Regions from separate parts of the Homo sapiens genome. Here region 2 is linked to region 1. The links are contacts of gene promoters, found by promoter capture Hi-C in blood cells and fetal thymus (Javierre and others, 2016). All regions are on one chromosome and are shown on one strand. The core of a region is centred on a gene start or on the middle of the fragment in contact, and the rest is flanking DNA. Distances in the headings are between cores, read along the strand shown.

What was found. The method cuts DNA at HindIII sites, captures the fragments that hold promoters and counts their contacts. A CHiCAGO score of 5 or more calls a contact.
Region 2: a contact is called between a fragment that was not itself captured here and the fragment with the promoter of CLASP1-AS1 in region 1, in 1 of 17 cell types (neutrophils). The highest score is 6.0, in neutrophils.

The regions. Positions count from the first base shown.
Region 1 is chr2:121,526,374-121,531,820 of GRCh38, reverse strand. CLASP1-AS1 (CLASP1 antisense RNA 1) reads right to left here and starts at 1,653. Exons shown (of 2, transcript XR_001739683.2): 1 at 1,046-1,653. CLASP1 (cytoplasmic linker associated protein 1) reads left to right here. Exons shown (of 41, transcript NM_001395891.1): 3 at 1,496-1,574; 4 at 3,041-3,144; 5 at 3,931-4,022. RNU4ATAC (RNA, U4atac small nuclear) reads right to left here and starts at 941; the gene lies at 812-941. RefSeq lists an enhancer at 1,264-1,393 and a silencer at 1,584-1,783. The HindIII fragment of the contact is 3,511 bases long and covers 1-2,387 here.
Region 2 is chr2:121,818,671-121,824,274 of GRCh38, reverse strand. No RefSeq gene overlaps it. Among named protein-coding and RNA genes, the nearest start is that of LINC01823, 31 kb to the right of the region's middle. The HindIII fragment of the contact is 9,150 bases long and covers 1-5,604 here.

The DNA of each region.
Region 1 (5,447 bases), core at 404-2,903:
TGTTGGCTCATTGCAACCTCCGCCTCCCAGGTTCAAGCGATTCTCCTGCCTCAGCCTCCCAAGTAGCTGGGACTACAGGCATGCGCCGCCACGCCCAGCTAATTTTTGTATTTTTAGTAGAGACGGGGTTTCACCATGTTGGCCAGGATGGTCTCTATCTCCTGAGCTCCTGATCCGCCCGCCTCGGCCTCCCCAAGTGCTGGGATTACTATTTTTTTTTTTTTTTTGAGATGGAGTCTCGCTGTCGCCCAGGCTGGAGTGCAGTGGCGCGATCTCTGCTCACTGCAGGCTCCACCCCCCCGGATTCACGCCATTCTCCTGCCTCAGCCTCCCGAGCAGCTGGGACTACAGGCGCCGGCCACCTCGCCCGGCTAATTTTTTGTATTTTTAGGAGAGACGGAGTTTCACTGTGTTAGCCAGGATGGTCTCGATCTCCTGACCTCGTGATCCGCCCCCCTCGGCCTCCCAAAGTGCTGGGATTGCAGGCGTGAGCCACCGCGCCCGACCTGGATTACATTTTATGTGAGGTGCAAAGACCTACTGAAACTTCGTCTCCTATTGAAACTTGACCTAGACTACTGGGCTGACTCAGCATAAGGAAGTTACAGAACAGTTGATGATCGGCGTAAAGTTAAAGGGGTGAAGTTCTGTTGAAATCCTTCCCGTTTAATCACCGCAAAAACTGAAAGAACTTTACTTGCGACACTAAAACCACGCGTCTTGTGCACCCTCTACTGGTTTAACCACAAAGTACTAGTTTATTTACGAATTACTGCTGTTTGAACTGATAAGTCTATGAAAACAGGTTTTCATTTTTCCAAAAATTGCACCAAAATAAAGCAAAAGCTCTAGTTGATGCGGGTGTGTTGTTCAGGCGTTAGCAGTACTGCCCTCACTATGCGCTCATTGGACAGTAGCGCAACCCCAAGAAAAGGATGGTTATAATAGAAAGTCCCTGGGCTGCAAGCAGGAAGCGCCAATACCTGGTAGGGTTGTGGTAATTAATTCGTGAGCCTCGCCCTAGTCGGTCTGGTAGCTAGCTTACCTCCAGCCTCCACAGCTTTCGACGACACCCCAATTCTTTGTTTTCTGAGGCTCCCGAAGGGTCGCAAAAGCGGCGGCTCGGTTTTACCCAGAAGACCGCGCGTCGGCCGCTCGAAAATTTGCATACGCTTTTCTCGCCGGGGCGGGGCTGGCGGGGGCGGGACCGCGGCGCGCTCTTGAACTCCACCCGCAGCTAACCCGGGTTTGGCTACGCTGTATTGCCTTTTATTTCGTTTCTCCTCACCGAGTATTTTCCATTATAGCTGTACATAGCTCTTTTTGTGGAAGATCATCCTTCTTCGTGCTAATCTCTTTGGTCCTCCAGTCGGCATGCGTCTGGACTCTCGGACTGCGTCTGGGCCGGAAATGTCTAGGCCTCCCCGGAGCGGGTGGGCGGGAGCGCTGCCCCGCAGGCCGGCTGCTAACAGGCTCCCGGTGTTTCCCGCTGCAGGTGGTTCTGCTGGGCATGGACATCCTGTCCGCCCTGGTGACCCGGCTGCAGGATCGGTTCAAGGCGCAGATCGGCACAGGTGAGCTGCGGCACTTGTGGAGCGGACCCGGCCCCTTCAGACCCCCAGCCTTCCCTCGGCCTCCCCGGCTCCCAAACCCTCCCGGCAGCCACCCTGCCTCCCCTCCAGCCCCCTCTCCCTCCCTTCCGCTCCTCCCAAACAGCCAGTCCCCGCCCTCCCCCGCAGCCCCCCTAAGCACTCGCAGCCTGGGTCGGCCGCCCCGCTGCCTTCCCTTCCAGCTGGACTCCCCTGGCCTCTGGGCCTGCGGGCGCCCTTACCCTCCCCCATACCTTTGTACTGGCTTCACTGTGTTCTCACACGGAACTTAGTAATACGTGTTCTAATATGAAATATTAGTGCCATTTTTATTTCTTATGCTAAATTAGCTGTCACTCTTTAGTGCCAACCAAGTCATATTTTACCCTGACCCCGGTCCCCTTTAATGAGAGGCAGTTTTCCTTGAGAAATCCTATAAAACCAAGCCAGTTGTATTTTTCTCCAGATGATTATGGTTGGCATGACTATTTTCACCTTGATTGTAAATGTCATTACAAATGTATAGTAAATGTTCACTCTTATTTTGAAGGGAAAACAGTATGTCAGCAAAATGAAACAAAACCCACAGATTTCATAGATTTAAATACCTCTAAATTCCTGACCTCCGGTGTTTCATGGGGGTAGTATAAACACTAAGCATCTCTATGCAACCATTTCCTTATGGAATTTCTCTGTTTTACGTTGGTACACATGTATTCTTTACTGTTAACTTTCCGACCAATATGCTCCTTCTGAAAAGGTCATGAGCACCGACTGTTTACAAATTTAAAAAAAGCTTTTACTTTTAGACATTTGATATTTTAATAGTGTTCCATTTTCCTCCTAAATTAGCTGAATTATTCAGGGATATCTCATGTAATAGAGGTTTACAAACTCTTAAAATAAGCTGATCTCTGGTCTACAGGTGCACTTGGACCACTGGTGGGAGGGTCCACCCTGGGTATGTCGGGGAAGATGGAGAGCTGGGCTCTGTCTCATGTGTGTATGGGCGTGATGTAAAACTAAAAATACACAATAGTGATGAAACTTAAGATTTATTCATAAGTGCCCACTCCTTCCACCCCCAAACACATATACTGGAGCCCCTCTCCTTGTGTTTTACCTAAATTTTCCTTTCTGTTGACTCTTCCTCTCAAGGTCTTCCATTTTTATCAGCTTACAAATACGTTGGGAACTGGCTGGAGGAACGTGGGGTAAGGAGGAAGACAAATAGTGTATCTGTCCATGCAAAGGATTTTGCAGACTCTTTTGGTGACTTTCATGGACTTCAGCAAGGAGAGTAGAGCTGTGAGCAAAGATGAGTGGTTTTAGAATGAGATACATCATTTAGGTCAGGGGTTTGTCTTCCCACATAATTGAGATAGGAATACTTGGTGACCACAGACCCCCAAATAGGGTTTCATTTGATCAGTTTCCATTTTGATTTTCAGTGCTGCCAAGTCTAATAGACAGACTAGGAGATGCTAAAGACTCTGTGAGGGAGCAGGACCAAACTCTGCTGCTAAAGATCATGGATCAAGCTGCTAATCCCCAGGTAGGGGCAAGAGATGTGTTTTGAGGTCAGCTGGCCAGTGCGCGTGCATGCACGTGCGAGGGTGTGTGTGTGTACTTGCACAAATGGTGTGACTCCATAGACTTAAGCTGATGTATTACAGATAAAAATTTTCACAGCATTCAATCTGTTTCCCCATGCAAGATATTTAAATAAGTCACAAAACTATGAGATGAGTAAATTAGTGGATTTAACATGGGGGTATTGAATCTAATATACTTAGTTTTAATCCATTAGACTCTTCAGCTCATTTATGTAACCGACTCTCCAATTCTCTGAAAAGAGGGAGCTGTGGTGTCTGGGGAGTCAGGAGGCCTGGCTGGAGCCCTGGCCCCTGTCTTCCGGTGAATTGGGGCTGCTGGGATGGACCAAAACAGCCCTGCTTTCCCAGCTTCTACTGTCCTTTATTGGGGGGTGATCAGAAAAAACAGAGGCCAGTGTGAGTGTGTGATCTTTGGCAACTCACTAGCTCCTTTGGCCTTGCTTTCCTCACCCATAAAATGAGGACAGTTATACCTCTCTTTCAGGGTTCTTGGGAGAATTAAATGCAATTATGTAAATGAATGTGTTTTAAAAATTGTAATTTGATATACTTGATAACATGATAGATGTCATCATTTTCCAGTATGCTCTCGAGAGGATTAAATGTGTTGGTAGAGGATGGGACTAATTTGGCGCTCGTTAAGAGGCTTGCCTTCTATTGCTCCCTTATAAAGTGTCAGCTGCAGCAGTCTTCTCCTTTCCTCACCTGTTCTTTGTCATCTGCAGTACGTATGGGACAGAATGCTTGGAGGCTTCAAACACAAGAATTTCCGTACTCGAGAAGGCATCTGTCTCTGCCTTATAGCAACACTCAATGCGTAAGTCTGGGATGAGCCTGACATTTTTACGTGGCTGAATTTTTTAAAACTTTTTATTTTGAAATAATTATAGATTTACAGGAAGTTGCAAAGAAGTGTAGTGTGAGATCTCATGCCCCCTTTACCCACCCTTGCCCAGTGTTAGCACCTTGAATAACTATAGTACAGCATCAGTACCAGGAAGTTGAGATGGATACAATCCCTAGAACTTGCGCAAATTTCTCAGGTAAAACCACATGTGCATTTGTGTGTATATACAACTGCACAGTCACTGCCGGGCTCCTTCATGCTGCTGTGTGTAGCTGCACCCTGACCCCTGGCAACCATGAATGTATTTGAATTTCCAGGAATCTGTTCTCCCTCCCTATGATTTTGTCATTTCAAGAATGTTATGTAAATGGAATTATACAATATGTAACCTTTTGAGTTTATCTTTTTTTCACTCAGCATAATGCCCTTGAGTTTGCACCTGACATTTGATAGTTCATTTTATTGCTAAATAGAATTCCTTGGTATAGATGTGTCACAGTTGGTTAAACTAGTCACCTGTTGAAGAACATTTGGGTAATTTCCAGTTTTTGGCTTTTATGAATAAAGCTGCTATGAACATTCATGTACAAGTTTCTACATGAACATAAGTTTCCATCTCTCTTGGATCACTGCCCAAGAGTACACTTGCTGGGTGATTTGGTAAGTTCATTTTTAGTTTAAAAGGTACTGCCAAGTTTTTCCCCAGAGTTGTCCATACTGTTTTACATTCCTACCAGCAATGTCCGAATAATCTGGTTTCTTCATACCCTTGCTAGCCATTGGATGTTGTCATTTTTTTATTTTAGCCATTTTTATATGTGTGTAGTAATACCTCATTGTGGTTTTAATTTGTATTTATCTAATGGCTGTTGATGGTGAACATTTTTTTCATGTGCTTATTTGTAGGAGAGGCTTTTTAAAAATTATAAATTTCAAGCCTTTTTTTCTGATTATGAAAAAATACTGTATATATCATAAAAATGTACGCAAGGAAAAAATAAAGATTGCTATGATTCTGTTACCTTCAGGTAATCACTGTTAAATTTGGTGCATTTTATCCTAACCTGTAAAGTTATGTTATTTTTAAAAACAAAATTGAGATTATAATGTTTATATTACTTGTAAATTTTTTCCATCTTAATATGTTAGCCTTTTCAGTGCCATTAAATTTGGCCATATGTAACTGAAGCTTAAGAAAAAAAAAAGAAAACTTCTAGCCTTTGATCACAGTAGCTCCAGTTTTAGGAATGTATGCTAAGGTAGTAGGCAGATTAACCAAGAGATTTTTATTCACAAAGGCTATTTGTCATGACAGGGATGGTGATGGTGAAAATTGTAACTCAAATGTGCCCCAGTAGGGCAGTACTTGGCTCAGATGTGCCCCAGTAGGGTAGA
Region 2 (5,604 bases), core at 2,596-5,095, 290 kb before region 1:
TTGAAGAAAATATTCCTTGCCATTTTAACAAGCCTCAGAATAATTTCTTTTGTATATCCTGTCTGTCTTATGCAGCACTAGCACAGTGCCTGACACAGAGTCAGACATCCTGATACCTACACCGGTTTAATTAATTCACAAATGCTATGTTAGTGTCTAACAATTTTATCTGTAGTTACTTATAGATAGAATTATTTCTGCCTGGATGCCCCAGAAGGATTCAGTGAGAAGTAGGGTTAGGTGAGGGACAATCTTCAGATGCAGCAGTTTATGCTGTTTTTTTCTATTTTTTTAAATAATCAACCTTCTCTCTCTACCCTCATTACCAGAAGTTATTCATGAGAAATATAGGGCTCCCCAGGAGGGCTGATATCCCTCAAAGGTGGTAATGAAAATATAGCAAAATGCCCCACAGTGAGGCAATGAGAAGGGGAGGAAGACGGAAGCTGAGAATAGACTGAAGATGGTGGGCCAGCTGATAATAAAACGTCCTGTGGAAGGAAGTCCCATGGCATGGTCTCTTCTATCAGGGAGACTATTTCACACTTGGTGGCTTCATACATGGTCACATCTGTTCTGCTAAGGAGTACCTAATGCCCAAGGCTTCCTGGTCAGAACCAAGAACAACGCTCTGCTAACCAAAGAAGGGAAAGATATCCCAAACTGAAAAAGGGACCCATCTCTGTGCTTATATTGTGGCTACTCAGAACAACACCTTTTCTGAAATTTTGATCAGAGAACACCATCTTCTAGCACAAACACCATGAAATGCTGGGTAAATATAGTAAGCAGCCTTTTCAATCTTGACAGAGCCCTGAAAGAAGGAAATAGAACTCCCCAGGGGCCAAGAAAATCCTTGAGCTTCTGCTGTGAAACCTGGCCAGGAGGATGGATTCAGGAAGGGGCATGAGCTCGCAACTCCCGGGGGATTGGGGATTGATGCTTACAGGGAGTGGGTCTGATGAAGAACAAAAGTACAAACCAGAAAAGAAAAAATTCTCACCAACTCAGGTGGATGACAAAGAAATTTTAGCTTAGACTTGAAGTGGAAAGTAAATAAATAAAATAGTTATCTGGGAATTCATGAACACAAATCTGACTTCATATAGATTTGGGGCTCAAATTTATCCCACCCAACTTGGTCTGGAACCCCCAGGCTAAAAAAGTCACATAAAATTTGGTTCTCAGCTAAATGATGCCCCAGGGGAATTGGTAAAAGCCAACGCTCTGAAGTTGGATATATTATTGGAAGATCTAATCTTATCAACATATCTACTCTCTCCAAATGAATTCATAGATTCAATAAAGTCTCAGTCAAAATCCTAGCAAGTGTTTTTGTGAAAATTGATGTTTATTCTAAAGTGTATATGGAATGAAAAGAGTCAAAAAATAATCAAAATAGTTTTGAGAAAGAGCAAAGTTGGAGGGCTCACACTACCAGATTATCAAGACCTTCTTAAGAAAGTTGTGACATTTAAGACAGTGTTGTATTGGCGCAAGGATAGACAAACAGACTAATCAGACAAAGGAGAAACCTCCACATACAGACACCTGATTTACAGCAATAATAGTGCTGCAGTGCAAAAATAAACCTTGACCCCTACCTCACACCATACCAAAAAAAGGCAATTCCAAATGAATTGTAGATCTACACGTGAATGGTAAAACAACATTTCTATGAAATAATATAGGAGAAAACCTTTATGACTTTAGGGTAGACAAGGATTTCATAAGGCCTTACATGTGATTGTAATTCTTTTAGAAAATGCAAAAATGTGTGATAAAAAGTTGGGCACAGATTATAGCTCACACTTATAATTCCAGCACTTTGGGAGGCCAAAGTGGGAGGATCACTTGAGGCCAAGAGTTCAAGACAAGTATGAGCAACATAGCAAGACCCTGTCTCTACTAAAAATAAAAATAAAAATTAGCTGGGTATGGTAGCACCCACCTGTAGTCCTGGCTACTCAGGGAGCTGAGGCAGGAGGATCACTTGAGCCCAGGAGTCCAGGGTTGCGGTGAGTTATAATCACACCACTGCACTCCAGCTGGGTGATAGAATGAGGCCCTGCTTCAAATAAATAAAATAAATAATAAAATGTGTGATAAAATAAATATACCCAATTTCCCTACCACTCAGAAATTAAAGAAAATACTTTTGAATGTTTTTGAAAAGCGGTTGCATCTTCCATCTCCCTCACCCAAACTAACAGTGGATTATCCATCATTTTATACTGTTCTCTTGCTTCATGAGTGAGTCTTTTCTCAAAAAAAAAAAAAAGGCCTGTAGGCTTCTAGACAGCAAAAGCTGAATCAGCACTAATACAGCCATAGGGACAAGGCTGTGGGCATCTCCTGGACAGAGCTACAGGCTGATCTTCTCACTTTACAGATGGGAAAGCAGAAGCCCCCAGGGCTACTTGACTTCGCTGGTAGAGGCAGGATGGTATCCAGAACCCTGATCACAGTGCTGTTTCCAACACATGTCCTCTTGTGGGGGATGGCTAGCAATGCTGCCCCTAAAACAGTGTTCTCGGTGCCTGCTGAGGTCACTGGCTCCACTCCTTCTGTCCCCTGGGGCATCTCAATACGTCACCAAGTGGTGGTGATGTCATCCACTGACTGGGTGATGCTCCTACCTCCACCAAGACTCAACCCTCCTGACACTAAGCCCAGTGGCATCAAGCCACACGGTTCCTTGGTGGTGTTTTCCAAAGTTTAAGGACAGCCAACTATTTCTCTTATGTGAGCAGCTTCCCACTGACGGTGAGAACTGAGTGAGAAACAGAGAGCTGCCTGAGTTTTTTCATTTTGTTTACAATTATTTGAAATCCAATGCTACAGGACACTGGGACAAACATAAATTAATTTTCCTTGATTGGAAGCTGATGAATCTCTTGTTGTGTTGAAAAGGACTCTGACAGCTCTGGGCTTCAGTGAAAAGAGAGCTATTGTTTTCTTAATTGGGGACTCATAGAACTTGTAGATGCAGCCAGGGCCAGCCTGAGGGGCAGAGGTGGCCCATCTGAGAGTGGGTTGTGAGATAGACCATTTATAAAACCATGGGCGACGGATCCCAGGAGGCTGCTGAATGGAATTATTCAAGAAGCATCACCATGTGTCCATTTTCTATCTGGTAAAGAGCTTGTTTTTCAGCTTGCATCCCTGTCAGGAGTTCACCCTTCCAGCCCATTGGAAAATATAATCTTCCCCAGTGTCCGCCATGTTGAACCCTGAGCGCACCCAGGAACAGAGGCGGCAGACTCAGGCAGAGATGCAGGGCTGTAGGGGATGAAAAAGAGTGGAAGCCACACCCAGGTAAAGGAACAAGTCCCCTCCTCTGTGAAGCATCCTCTGATCACCCTCAGCTACTGCAGTTCTCCCTCTCCTGGGATCCCACTGCCCGGTGGGGAACCCCAGCATAGCCAGTAGCTCCTTATATGGGAACAGTTGGCTTGAATGTGTCCTACATGACTGAGAGCTGCTTCATCTCTGAACCCAGGGACCCAGTACAGCAGAAAGAAAACATGGGTTTGGAGTAAAACAGCTGGAGGCTTCATACCAGCTCCATCACTTCTGCTCTGCAGTGCCTGGCAAGTTACATCGCCTTGTCACACCTTGGCACCCAGTGGTAGAATGGGTTTCACACTGGCACTGCCTTGTAGGTTGAAGTAAGTTAAAGGCCAAGTGTGGTGGCTCACGCCTGTAATCTCAGCACTTTGGGAGGCTGAGGCAGGAGGATCGCTTGAGCGCAGGAGTTCAAGACCAGCCTGAGCAACACTGGGAGACCCCGTCTCTACAACAACAATGACAACAACAACAAAACACTGTATTTTAAAAGCATCTAGCACAATGTCTGGTCCATAGCAAGCACTTAGTAAATGTTAGCAATTAATAATAGATGTTATTAGGAGTTCATTAATGTTTGTTTTTGTTGCTGCTGCCGCTACCTAACAGAAGCAATTAACAGAGCGTATCTGAAGAAGCAAAACTCCACGGAAATCAATACAGAGCACACTTAAAGAAATATTTGAGCAGCCCCAACACTATCCCAAATGGGGACTTGGTGCAAATTACAAAAAAGGTTCCCACAAGACACTTCCCTACCATCTGCCAAAATTGTAACAGTCACTCTCCTGATCTACAGTGTCTGCAATTTTCAAGCACCCCCTCACCCCACCCCACCAGGTGTGCAATGTGAAGCACAGCCAGCTGTAAATGACAGGAGGAAGTTCACAGTCAGGAAGCAAGAATCAGGGCCTCAGGGAGGGAAGGTGCAAGCCGGGTGGCCTGTAGCAGACCAGAGCGGCTCAGGCCCGCAGGAACACGGCTGGTGAACTGGAACACAGAAACGAGAGGGGAGTCAAGACGGGCCTCTTAGCCCCTGTCTAGGGATCAGTCCACCTCTTTGGAGAAGAGCTTGTATTTTTCAATTTGGGTTGTAACTTTGAGAGAGTAAGAAAAAAAGGCAACATGGGTTGATCAGCCTTGTATTAAGAATTTTCTTACCAAAGTAATTCAGGAATGGAAAATCAAATACTGTGTGTGTTCTCACTTATAAGTGGGAGCTAAGCTATAAGAATACAAAAATACACAGTGATAATGAACTGTGGGGCCTGAGCGGGAGGAGGCTGGGAGGGGGGTGAGGGATAGAAGACTAAATATTGGGTACAGTGTACACTTGCTCGGGTGATGGTTGCGCCAAGATCTCAGAATTTACTACTGAAGAACTCATCCATGTAACCAAAAACCACCTGTACCCCTAAAAGTACTGAAACTAAAAAATAAACAATGAAAAATATTCTTACTGAATAGTGTATGTACTTCTTTCCTTAGAAAAATAGAAGCAGAGAATTTCTAGTTCAGCAAAATGGTGAAGTAAGCTAACACAAAACCCTTCCACTACAAATACATAAAGATTTTAGATAAATCAATAGAAAAAGAAAACTATATTTTAATCAACTTTTTTTAAGTTTTCCCCTAATTAGAAACCCCATTCCTAAATGGTGCTGGAAAGGAAATATACCAAGGAGAGAGAAGTAACCACGCCAGAGGAGCAGGACCAGGAAACCTCTCTCCTGGTCTAATGAACAGAATGGCAAACACCACATGGTCACCAAGCCTTTTCTTTCTGTCTGCTACAGCCACATACCAAGCCCTCATTTTCTTTCTTTCTTTTTTCCAATGCCAAGTATAAACGGAACCCAATTTGCGTGAGCAAATGAGAATGGATTGAAACAGGTCATCTGTAAATTTCCCAAGCTGGTCCAGCAGTCATTCTGCAAACTTCCAACCTCCCCACCCTCTCAATGGATTGTGGCTTTAATGAACATTATTTCTGCCACTAGAGAGCCACATACAAAGTGGAGTTTAAAGGTCTTCCCGCCCCAAAACATCTCTACCACTAGATAATAGCAGTCTGAAATTTCTCCACCAAAGACTCATTGTTTGGGGTTAAGCATTTAAAAGGCAAAGGTTGAATGGAGGCAGGGGAGAGGCAGACCTGACCTTCCTGTGGGTTCTAGAAGAGCAGAAAGAGGAAGTTGCTGAAGGTGGCAGAAGGGCACAGAAGGCCCATTCTGCAGCTCTGGCCCTTGGCTGGGG